Linked DNA regions of Homo sapiens: regions 1, 2 and 4 are each linked to region 3. Evidence: promoter capture Hi-C in human tissues and cell types (Jung and others, 2019). All regions are on one chromosome and are shown on one strand. The core of a region is centred on a gene start or on the middle of the fragment in contact, and the rest is flanking DNA. Distances in the headings are between cores, read along the strand shown. Region 1 overlaps KDM2A (lysine demethylase 2A). Region 2 overlaps PC (pyruvate carboxylase). Region 3 holds the start of KDM2A (lysine demethylase 2A). Region 4 overlaps PC (pyruvate carboxylase).

The links. The method cuts DNA at HindIII sites, captures the fragments that hold promoters and counts their contacts. A contact is called where the count stands out against the background at its distance.
Region 1: a contact is called between a fragment that was not itself captured here and the fragment with the promoter of KDM2A in region 3, in 4 of the 25 tissues and cell types used here (IMR-90 fibroblasts, dorsolateral prefrontal cortex, hippocampus and 1 more).
Region 2: a fragment that was not itself captured here is called in contact with the fragment with the promoter of KDM2A in region 3 in 1 of the 25 tissues and cell types used here (IMR-90 fibroblasts).
Region 4: a fragment that was not itself captured here is called in contact with the fragment with the promoter of KDM2A in region 3 in 1 of the 25 tissues and cell types used here (dorsolateral prefrontal cortex).

Annotation. Positions count from the first base shown.
Region 1 is chr11:67,250,701-67,253,400 of GRCh38, reverse strand. It overlaps KDM2A (lysine demethylase 2A), which reads right to left. Exons shown (of 21, transcript NM_012308.3): 17 at 2,603-2,700; 18 at 544-707. Among named protein-coding and RNA genes, the nearest start is that of GRK2, 14 kb to the left of the region's middle. The HindIII fragment of the contact is 4,594 bases long and covers 1-2,700 here.
Region 2 is chr11:66,929,467-66,932,166 of GRCh38, reverse strand. All of the region lies in intron 3 of PC (pyruvate carboxylase), which reads left to right. Among named protein-coding and RNA genes, the nearest start is that of MIR3163, 3.7 kb to the left of the region's middle. The HindIII fragment of the contact is 5,380 bases long and covers 1-2,700 here.
Region 3 is chr11:67,117,998-67,120,697 of GRCh38, reverse strand. KDM2A (lysine demethylase 2A) reads right to left here and starts at 1,435. Exons shown (of 21, transcript NM_012308.3): 1 at 649-1,435. It overlaps LOC107984341 (a long non-coding RNA gene), which reads left to right and starts at 2,350. Exons shown (of 2, transcript NR_160735.1): 1 at 2,350-2,700. RefSeq lists silencers at 294-383, 909-1,048, 1,229-1,298, 1,439-1,878, 2,059-2,338 and 1 more and an enhancer at 1,949-1,998. The HindIII fragment of the contact is 11,710 bases long and covers 1-2,700 here.
Region 4 is chr11:66,947,487-66,950,186 of GRCh38, reverse strand. All of the region lies in intron 3 of PC (pyruvate carboxylase), which reads left to right. Among named protein-coding and RNA genes, the nearest start is that of PC, 9.5 kb to the left of the region's middle. The HindIII fragment of the contact is 7,176 bases long and covers 1-2,700 here.

The DNA.
Region 1 (2,700 bases), core at 51-2,550, 130 kb before region 3:
AGAGCCGTAACGATCTGAGCAAAGTGAACAAACTTCCAGTCTAATAGGAGAGAAGGACTATGCCTAATCTTTTAGTCATCCAGCTCAAAGATTTCCATGGTATCCTATACTACATCTTCTAGCTTTAGTGGTAAATTGATTGCTTAGTTCCCACCAGAGCAATACAAGAAGGAGTGACTTCCTGTCTTTCTAAGAGCTCAAAATGCTGAAGAGAACAAGGGCTTATAAGGAGCTGACCAAAGTAACATCTGACTCAAATTTCCTCTTTAGTGGTTATGCTGAGGAGAACTGCAGGGCTGGCAGCAACACTGATTCCGTTCTCTTTGCTGTCCATTGCAGTGATTGGCCTGCCAGTCCAGAGTGCTGCCTGGGAGACTGACACTTAAGATGGCCCTGGGTAAACCTCTTGCTAAGCAACAATGGCATGGGACTGCTGCCCTACACTGCCCTCCAGTGATGCTAAGAAGCACTGCCAATAATGCAACTTTTCTTGCCCGCTTCTTCTGGGCCCCTGGAAAGACAGCGGCAGGGCTGCTCACTTACCTGGCAGCCTATTGACGAGCCATGTCAGTTGCTTTTTAGAGATGTTGGTCCAACTGAGGTCAAGGCTGACTGGCTGCCTCTTGATGATGCCACTGAGGGCCTGGGGCACAATGGCCTTACACCTACTCAAGTCAATTTTTGTCCAAAGTCTCTTGTCGCAGCACCTGTGATAGAAGGGAAGAGAACTCGCCTTCATTAACTTGATCAGTGGAGCTCCCATCACAGGCTGCTTATGGCTTCTGGGAAAAGCAGAGTACCTGGAGGCTCGTTCTTCTACAAGTGTACAGGGATCACACCTTATCATTTTTTGCCTCACAGAATAGGCAAAAAATTGCCTTGAACTCTACAACAACTAGACGCTTTGCAAACCTACATGTTGATAGTATATAACTTGACCACTTTACCCTGATTTATTCTGGAGTGTTTGAGAACACAACAGTTGTTAGGGACCCATAGCAAGCAACAGTCTATAGCCCCTTCATCTGTATTAAAATGGCATGGTTCCTGCTGAAGTGTATATAAGGGAGCCTCTTGAAGTTTCTAGACTTCTTACTGTCTAAAGCTAAGAAGGCCTGCTCCGTTCCCTCCCTTGTCAATCACTCGCAGCTGCCTGAAATGCAGGGTGCTACTCAGCACATCCACAATTCACCCTGCCTTCAGCCCATTACTGTATCAGGTCAAAAGAGGCTCTTTATCAGGCTTACAGAGTCCTCTCTCACCCTCAAGTTCTGCCTCAGTGCTATCCTGACATTTTCTAGCCAGGCCAGACCAGAACTGAAAGGGATAGGCCTGGCTTTCCACTGCAGTCTACAAATCTACAGGCCACAAACCACAACATGCTGGCTTCAATTTAATATTTTATAGCCCCTGCCCCCCAGCCTGGTTGGCAGGGGAAGAGAGACAGCACATAACGGGAATCTGATGTGCCTTGCCCTGAAAACCAAGAGGTAGAGCCAAGCAGTCCTATTAGCCCTAGACAGAGAAATATTAAGGAGAATTTAGATACACTATACATTAATTCAGATTTGGGAAATAAACTCATGTTTGCAAAGAATAGGGTCTATTTAGAGACTGAAACAATTTTACCAGTGGCACATGAAGCTTCTATGGCAGAAGCAAGCTGCTGACAATACAGCAGATTTTGCTGCTCTAAACTCGAGCATGCATCAGAGTCCCCTGGAGGAGCGCTTGTTAAAGCAGACTGCTGGGCCCACCCAAGAGGTTCTGATTTAAGAGGCCTATGAGGGTCCTGACAGTTGACATTTCTAAAAAGTTCCTGAGTGAATGCCATTGGTCAGGACACCACACTACTGTAATAGGATGTGTGTGACCCAGATAAAAAGGATATATCCTAGAGTAAATATATACCAGAGTTTAAGGAAAAACCAACAATGCCCAATGGGAAGCTCCTTGTTCATCATCACTAGCAATTTTTTCCCCCAAGTGTCTGTCCAACTTAAGAAGAAATGGTAGCTCTCATTAAGGAAGCTTCAAAACTGGACTCTGCTTGCTGGAAGAGGGAATTCTGATCCAGGTTTGGGGGGATGAGCATTAAAACTGAAGAAAAATGTTAAGCACCTTCAAATTCATCTTGAAAAGCATGCCCACTTCTCTCACTGAATGGAGAGGTAATTGAGTCAGGGGCTTAAGTGAGGTTATCTGTGTTATCAGCACCAGAAGAGTGACTAGAACATCATAGGCTCTCAACCAACATGTGATGAGTTCAGCTGACTTGAGGAGGAAATTTTCAGCCCGCAAGACTCTCAAGTTTTATCACAGACTACAAATCTATCCCGCAAATCAGTCTCCCTCCCCATAACAATGAGACATGGGAAAGTATAGAGCAGGGCCAGGAGGCAAATGGCCAGTTCCCTAATGACATCTGCGGGTACAACAGGCTACATCTTTAAACAGGACCCAAAGTTTGGGAAAAAGGGTCAATTCACTCCTCATAAGACCCCACAGGCTTTCAGATGCCAAGGTGCATGCTGTTCTCATATGGAAAACCTGCCACCTACTCCCATACCCCTAATTCCTGACCCCCTGAATCCCTGCTCACCATTTATACCACGTCTTGCACACTCGCATACATTCACAAAGTTCTCTGCGGCTGAGGTAGCGGAAGACAGACATCCAGACCTCCCGCTGCATCCAGCT
Region 2 (2,700 bases), core at 60-2,559, 190 kb after region 3:
CTTTTTCCTCTCTCCCCAGTAACCCAGTCCCCTCCCAGGAGGCCACTTCCGGTTAAATTATCTTGTCTGTCCTCTTGGAGGTGGTCTGCCCTTTGAAATAGAAACATATTTCCTTTTTTCTTTTTCTTTTTCTTTTTTTTTTTTTTTTGAGACAGAGTCTCGCTCTGTCGCCCAGGCTGGAGTGCAGTGGCGTGATCTTGTCTCACTGCAAGCTCCGCCTCCCGGGTTCACGCCATTCTCCTGCCTCAGCCTCCTGAGTAGCTGGGACTACAGGCAACTGCCACTATGCCCGGCTAATGTTTTTTGTATTTTTAGTAGAGATGGGGTTTCACCGTGTTAGCCAGGATGGTCTCTATCTCCTGATCTTGTGATCCACCTGCCTTGGCCTCCCAAAGTGCTGGGATTACAGGCGTGAGCCACTGCGCCCGGCTACAGAAACATATATCTATTGTTTGTTTCTCCTGTGCCCTTTCTGCTCCATGCCCTTTTCATTTATCAGTGTATCTTGGAAATCGTCCGATGTCAGCACAAATAAAAAGTCTGCAGTACTCTGTGTGCCATTGCATGTTTTTTTTTCTTCATTTTGCCATTTGTTTATTGCAAAATCCCACACTTAACAGAAGACATGTTTAAAACATATGAGTATGTTAAAACAAAATAGTAAAATGAACATCTATGTTCCCATCCCTAGGTTAAGGTTAGGACCATATAAGCCCCCTATGTTCCCTCCCCGGTTGAAGTCCCTTCCCTCAGCTATTCCTTTTTTTTTTTTTTTTTTTTTTCTTGAGATGGAATCTTGCCACTCTGCTGTCCAGGGTGGAGTGCAGTGGTGCCATCTCGGCCCACTGCAACCCCTGCCTCCTGGGTTCAAGTGATTCTCCTGCCTCAGCCTCCTGAGTAGCTGGGACTACAGGTGTGTGCCACCATGCCCGGCTAATTTTTGTATTTTTAGTAGAGACGAAGTTTCACCATGTTGGCCAGGCTGGTCTTGAACCCCTGACCTCAGGTGATCCGCCCACCTCAGCCTCCCAAAGTGCTGGGATGACAGATGTAAGCCACCACACCTGGCACCCCAGCTATTCTGAATTTTGTGATATTTATTCTCTTGTTCTTGTTAGTTTTCCCACCGATAGCCAACCTCTGAATAACTTATTGTTGAATTTTGCCTGGTTTTGAACACCTGGACATGGAATCCTACAGTAGATTTCTGTGACTTGCTCAGCATTACATTTGTGATTCGTCCATGTGGATGCACATGGCTCTGTTCATGTTCACTGCCGTAGAGCTTTCCATTGAATGAATATCCACAGTGTGTTGATCCTTTCTGTTGCCCTGTTGCCAAGAAGGCCTTGGTCTGCCTTTTGTTTTTTTTCCTCTCTCAGGAATAACCCTGCTGGGAACTTTTTTTTTTTTTTTTTTTTTTTTAAGACAGAGTCTTGCTCTGTCGCCCAGGCTGAAGTGCAGTGGTGTGATCTTGGCTCACTACAACCTCTGACTCCCGAGTTCAAATGATTCTCCTGTCTCAACCTCCCAAGTAGCTGGGATTACAGGGGTGTGCCACCATGCCCAACCAATTTTTGTATCTTTAATAGAGACAGGGTTTCGCCATGTTGGCCAGGCTGGTCTTGAACTCCTGAACTCAGGTGATCCGCCTGCCTCAGGCTCCCAAAGTGCTGGGATTACAGGCATGAGCCACCACGTCCAGCAGGAACATTCTTACATATGGCTCCTGGAACACATGAGCAAGAATTTCTGTGGGGTATAAACTAGGAGTGGAGTTGCTGGCATGTCTAACTCTTCTAGGTTATCCGAAACCAAAGATTTGAGGTTTTGAAAACTAATTTGCCCTTCTCCTGCCATCAGTAGGAGCACTGAGTATTTTCTGATCGCCCAGGTAGTACAACTTTGGACTGCAAGTCTGTGTGAGGGCTGTTTTGTGATTGCAGCTTCTTGGGGGGAGTTTTTTGTTTTTCTACCTGCTTTTGTTTTTCTACCTGCCAAGGATTTAGACAGTTGATTTTTCTTGCAGGTAGCTCTTGGGGACAGGGAAGGGTACATCAAGTTTCTTGGTGGTTCACTGTTACGTTAAGGGAGTATCCTTTGGAAGTCCCAACTTCACTGGGGGTAAGATCTCTTTAGATTTCCCACCGTGGCTGGGCTCTGGGCCGTGCTTCTGTGACCTTTTGAGGCTTTGAAAACTGAAGCTCAGGTTTGCCTAGTTCTGCAAATGCCATCTAGATAAAAGCTTCAGTGTTAACTTACCTCCCTGTTTCTCCTCCTTAGGGTTTTAGCCTGAATGTTCCTTATTTTCTTGCCAGCTTGCCTATGCTTTTAAGACAAAATTTAATCTGGCCAGGCGTGGTGGCTCATGCCTGTATTCCTAACACTTTGGGAGGACAAGGTGGAAAGATCACTTGAGCCCAGGAGTTTGAAACCAGCCTGGGCAACATAGTGAGACCTCCATCTCTGTTTCAAAAAAATATGTAAAAAATAAAAAGAAGGCCAGGCACCGTGGCTCACACCTGTAATCCCAGCACTTTGGGAGGCCGAGGTGGGTGGGTCACTTGAGTTCAGGAGTTCGAGACCACCCTGGTCAACATGGTGAAACCTTGTCTCTACTAAAAATACAAAAATTAGCCGGGCATGGTGGCATACACCTGTGGTCCCAGCTACTTGGGAGGCTGAGGCAAGAGAATTGCT
Region 3 (2,700 bases), core at 186-2,685:
TTTCTAGACTCCCCGGATCTTATCATTCCCAAATCTACCCTCCACCCCAACACAAGATGTGCACAACTCTGAAACAAATTTCAGAGGTGCAAATCAAGGACCAAAATTCCATCTGATCTTTTTGGATAAAGTAATAAAATAAACGATTGCATCTAAGGATACAAGGAAAATACATCTTGTCCAAAAATTAAATAAAAGACCGGCCGGCGCGACGGTCAATCCGTAATACCAAGAAAGGGTTTTCTTTTTTCTAAATATTCTCGTGGATAATGGCTTCCATTGAGAACACAGGTTCCCCCCGTTTTTGTCACTACATTACAGCCACGTTAACAGCATCCTTTCAAAACTGCTACGAGACCAGAGGACCCGATGACACAGTTTGCAGAGCAGTTAGAGGCAGAGCCCTCCCGGAGGAAGCCCTGGCCCGAAGTCGGGAGGGAAACCGTGCTTGCACCCCCTGGGCGACGACCGCCTGGGCATGGAGCAGCCAGGGCCGGAGAGGAAAAAGGGCGAATCTCGCTGGGCTCCCCCAGGAAAAGGCGTTTCAATGGTTCACCCATCGGAAAAAGAGATAGAAACTTTGCATTCAGTCTTTGGATAACACAGTCAACCAAACTTCCAAATGAGGGGGGGGAGGGGGAAACTCACCGGAGATTCTGCTCTTGAGTTCTTGTCCAAGTGAGAAGTAAAAGATTCCAAAGCTGAGAGGAATAATTAAATCCCAAACGTCGTCTTCGGTTTTTCCGTGGATCAACCCAGTATCCAGAGAGGGTCAGAGCGACCAGGAAAAGGGAGCAAACAGTTGCTGAATCAAACCTTCTCTTCTGGCTTTGGAGACCGGGAGTCGGAGGCGTCAGGAGAGAGGAGCGCGACCCCTCGGCGCCGAGCCCGGGGCGCCCCCGCCTCCCCCAGGCCAGCGGTCAGCAGCCCGGGCCCGAGCCCCGGGCCGGCCCCGGCCGCAGGGAGCGCCCTCCTCGCCGTGCCCTCGGCCAGCAGGGGCTGGTCGCCTGCGGGAGCAGCGGCCGATCAGCTGAGACCGGCCGGCCCGAGGCTCCCCGCGCCGCCCCGGCCCCCCGGAACGCGGGCCCCGGCCCCGGGGGGCGGACAGGGCGGGAGCGGCGCGGCGCGCCGGGATGGGGGCCCTGGCTCCCCTCGCGTCTCCCCCTCAGGTCTGGCTCCGCGCTGCGGGACGAGCCCCCCGGCTACTCCCCAGTCGCAGAAGAGGGATTCCGGGGGATGGGCCCCCTGGCGTTGCCCCTCCTCCCGGAGCGTCCCCTGCCCAGGAAAGACAGAGCGGCCACGGGCCCAGCCGCTGGGAAGGTGCTCCGAGAGCCGCCGCCGCCGCCGCCGCTGCCGGGGAGGGGTGTTGTTTCCCTCACACAGGAGGAGCCGCTGAAGCAGCCGCCGCCATTTTGAACCCGTCAGACTCTCACATACACACAGCTCCTCCGAGGCGCACTGCGCAGGCGCCACCTCCCCACCCCTCCTCCAGCTCGCCTCTCCACCCCCCCACCCCCTTCAGGCCTCCCTGCGCTTCTTACCGCTCTCCCGGGCGCGCGTGAACGCGCACGCGTCACTCCCCTCTAACGCGGACACACCGCCGGCGCGCGCACGCGCGGATGCGTCGGCCTCGAATCGCCCGCGCCCCGCGACGCCGACGCGGCTCCCTGCGCCCCCTCGCGTCAGGCCGCCCGCCCTCCCTCCCTCCCGCCAGCCCGCCGCCCCCGCTCCCCGTCGGCGTTCTTCCAGGGCTCGGGCCTGGCTGGCTGCTCGCGCCTGCGCGCAGGGCACCGATCCTCCTCCGCGCGCCCTCCCCCCACACACCCTCACACACACTTCGCCTCTGCGACCCCGCCCCTCGCGGCCAGCTGTGCTGGCCGCCCTCCCCCACCCCCCTGGGAGGGTGGTGACCCCCGACCCCCCACAAAGCACATCACCCCCCCCAAGCAGTGGGAGATCTGCGTCCCCTTCCCCTTCAACCGCCTTTGGCCCCAGGCTGCCCGTCACAGTCACACAACCTGAGGGCCGGGAGGCCTGGGCCAGGGCAACCGATACCCGCCTCAAAGCAGGGTCTCCCGGGGTCAAGCCGCCGGGCTGGGCCCGCGGGACCTGGGCTCCCGGCTCAGGCCTGCCCAGGGCGAGAGGGCGCAGGGAAGGGGCGCATGGCCGCCGGCTGCCCTCCCTTCGCGTGCCGGCCGGTGGGCCGAGGCCGGCTTGCCCGCCATTCCCGGGCAGGCCCCGGCGCCGCCGCCACGGGGCCCGTCTGCCCTGGGCCCGGGGGCTCCTCGGTGCAGCGGCCTGGCCCCGCCTCACCCACTGCTCGTCGCTCCGAAGGGGCAGGAAACAGGAGTAGCATGTCTGTCCTGGGCTCGGCTCCCCGGGGGTGCTGCAGGCGCTTAACAAGGGCGTCCACAGGTACCAGGCGCAGAAGCGGTCTCCGCGACGGCCCGGGGGCGGTGGCGGCCGGCGCGCCCACCGCCGGCCGGAGGCGCCCGGCGAGGTGGCCCAGGAAGCCCCCGCTCCTCGGCCACGCTCAGCTTTCCGCCGCGCCGGTGCCCCCGGCGGCCCGGGTGGGACGTGACCCCGCCCCCGGCGAGTCGGGGCGCCCCCCACGGAGGGGTGCGCGGGCCGCCCCCGGCCCCCGGCCCGACCCTGCCGCCCTGGGCCGTGGCGGGCGCGGGAGGCCCGGCCGGGAAGATG
Region 4 (2,700 bases), core at 46-2,545, 170 kb after region 3:
TCACTGAGTGCTGCAGTTACTATGAAGTGACACATGCTGCCCATTTATTACGTTTGCACATCACTTTATGCTGCTTTGGAGCCTCTTCTCATGTACATGCTGTGTATCAATGTGAAATGTATTAATATTAAATCATTAATAATAAGTATATTATTTATTCTGGAAAATATTTGTCTCTTGCAATGTGTGAGGAACCAGAGGTTCAGAGAGACTAGAGACTAAGCGACTTGGTGAGTTTCGGGTGACTGGTGCGTGGCATGTCTGAGGGAGGTTTGGATGCCACACCCACTCCTACCCCTGGATTTTTATGTAATGCAAAGATTATTCAGAAATTACTTTGGTCGAAAACAATTGATTTTCAATTTGTTAAAATTATGAATTCAGAAACCTAGTTATTTTAAGGGCCAGTCTTTTAAGTTTAGCTTATAAGTGTAGCCTATAAATCTTTCTGATCTATTTACGATTCTAGGACATTTTAACAGTCACTTTCAGGGGGCTTTTATTTATTTATTTTTTTTGCGATGGAGTCTCGCTCTGTCGCGATCTCGGCTCACTGCAACCTCCGCCTCCTGGTTCAAGCGATTCTTCTGCCTCAGCCTCCTGAGTAGCTGGGATTACAGGCGCCCGCCACCATGCTGGCTAATTTGTATTTTTAGTAGAGGCGGGGTTTCTTCATGTTGGTCAGGCTGGTCTCGAACTCCTGACTCAAGTGATCTGCCCGCCTCGGCCTCCCAAAGTGCTGGGATTACAGGCGTGAGCCGCCGCCCCGGCCTTAGGGGGCTTTTTGATTAATGCTTGGTCCCATTTGCAAATTTGATGAAACTTCTGAAATGTTTCAATTGAACTTATAAATCATATTCAACTTCAGTTAACTATTTTAATAATTCTTCTGGCCGGGCATGGTGGGTGGCTCACGCCTGTAATCCTAGCACTTTGGGAGGCCAAGGCGGGCAGATCACGAGGTCAAGAGATTGAGACCATCCTGGCCAACATGGTGAAACCCTGTCGCTACTAAAAATACAAAAATTAGCTGGGTGTGGTGGTCACGCGCCTGTAATCCCAGCTACTTGGGAGGCTGAGGCAGGAGAATCGCTTGAACCCGGGAGGCGGAGGTTGCAGTGAGCTGAGATTATGCCACTGCACTCCAGCCTGGCGACACAGCAAGACTCCATCTCAAAAAAATAATAATAATAATAAATAATAATAATAATTCTTCCATTTTTCTGATTAAAAAAACCCTCTAATACCTAAATGACTCTTGTAAATCTAATAAATGAAGCTGAATATTACACTTTTCTTAAACTTTCCTATACCGTTTTATGTTTTGTTTGTTTATTTTTGTTTATTTTGAGACGGTCTGATTCTGTCACTCAGGCTGGAGTACAGTGGCACAGTCTCAGCTCACTGCAACCTCTACCTCCTAGGCTCAGGTGATCTTCCCTTTTCAGACTCCTGAGTAGCTGGGACTACAGGTTCAAGCCACCACACCCGGCTAATTTTTGTACTTTTTGTGGAGACGGGGTTTCACCACATTGCCCAGGCTCATCTCGAACTCCTGAGCTCAAGCAATCAGCCCGCCTTGGCCTCCCAAAGTGCTGGGATTACAGGCGTGATACATTTTAGTTTTTACAATAGCTTTATTGGAGTATTACTGAGATATAATAAGTTGCACATATTTAAAGTATACAGTTTAGTAAGTTTTAACATATGTGTACCCTTGTGAAACCATCACTGCAGTCCAGAGAGTGAACACATTCATCACCTTTGGAATTCCTCCCTCTGCCTCCTCACTCTTCAGGAAACCATGGAACTGCTTTCTGTTACTATAGGTTAGTTTCCATTTTCTGGAATTTCACATAAATTGACTCATACAGTATATATTCTTTTTTCTCTGCCTTCTTTTACTCAGCATAATTATGTTGAGATATGTCCATGTTGTTGCTTGTATTGATAGTTCATTTCCTTCTTTTTTTTTTTTTTAAGACAGAGTCTTGCTCTGTCACCCAAGCTGGAATATAGCGGCGTGATCATAGCTCACTGCAGCCTTGATCTTCTGGGCTCAAGTGATCTCCCATCTCACTGAGTAGCTGGAACTACAGGTGTGTGCCACTACGCCTGGCATATCTATCTATCTATCTATCTATCTATCTATCTATCTATCTATCTATCTATCTTTAGTAGAGATGAGATCTCGGTATGTTGCTTAGGCTTTTTTTTTTTTTTTGAGACGGAATCTCACTCTGTCGCCCAGGCTGGAGTGCAGTGGCATGATCTCGGCTCACTGCAACCTCTGCCTCCCGGGTTCAAGCGATTCTTCTGCCTTAGCCTCCCAAGTAGCTGGGACTAGAGGCGCCCACCACCACGCCCAGCTAATTTTTGTATTTTTAGTAGAGAGGGGGTTTCACCATGTTGGCCAGGCTGGTCTCGACTCCTGACCTCAAATGATCCACCCCACCTCAGCCTCGAAAAGTGTTGGGATTACCTGCGTGAGCTACCGCACCTGGCCCTTAGGCTTGTCTTGAACTCCTGAACTCAAGCAGTCCTTCCCACTTTCCACCTTGGCCTCCCAAAGTGCTGGGGTTACAGGCATGAGCCACTGTTCCTGGTCAGTTCTTTTTTTTTTTTTGAGACTGAGTCTTGCTCTGTCGCACAGGCTGGAGTGCAGTGGCACGATCTCGGCTCACTGCAAGCTCCGCCTCA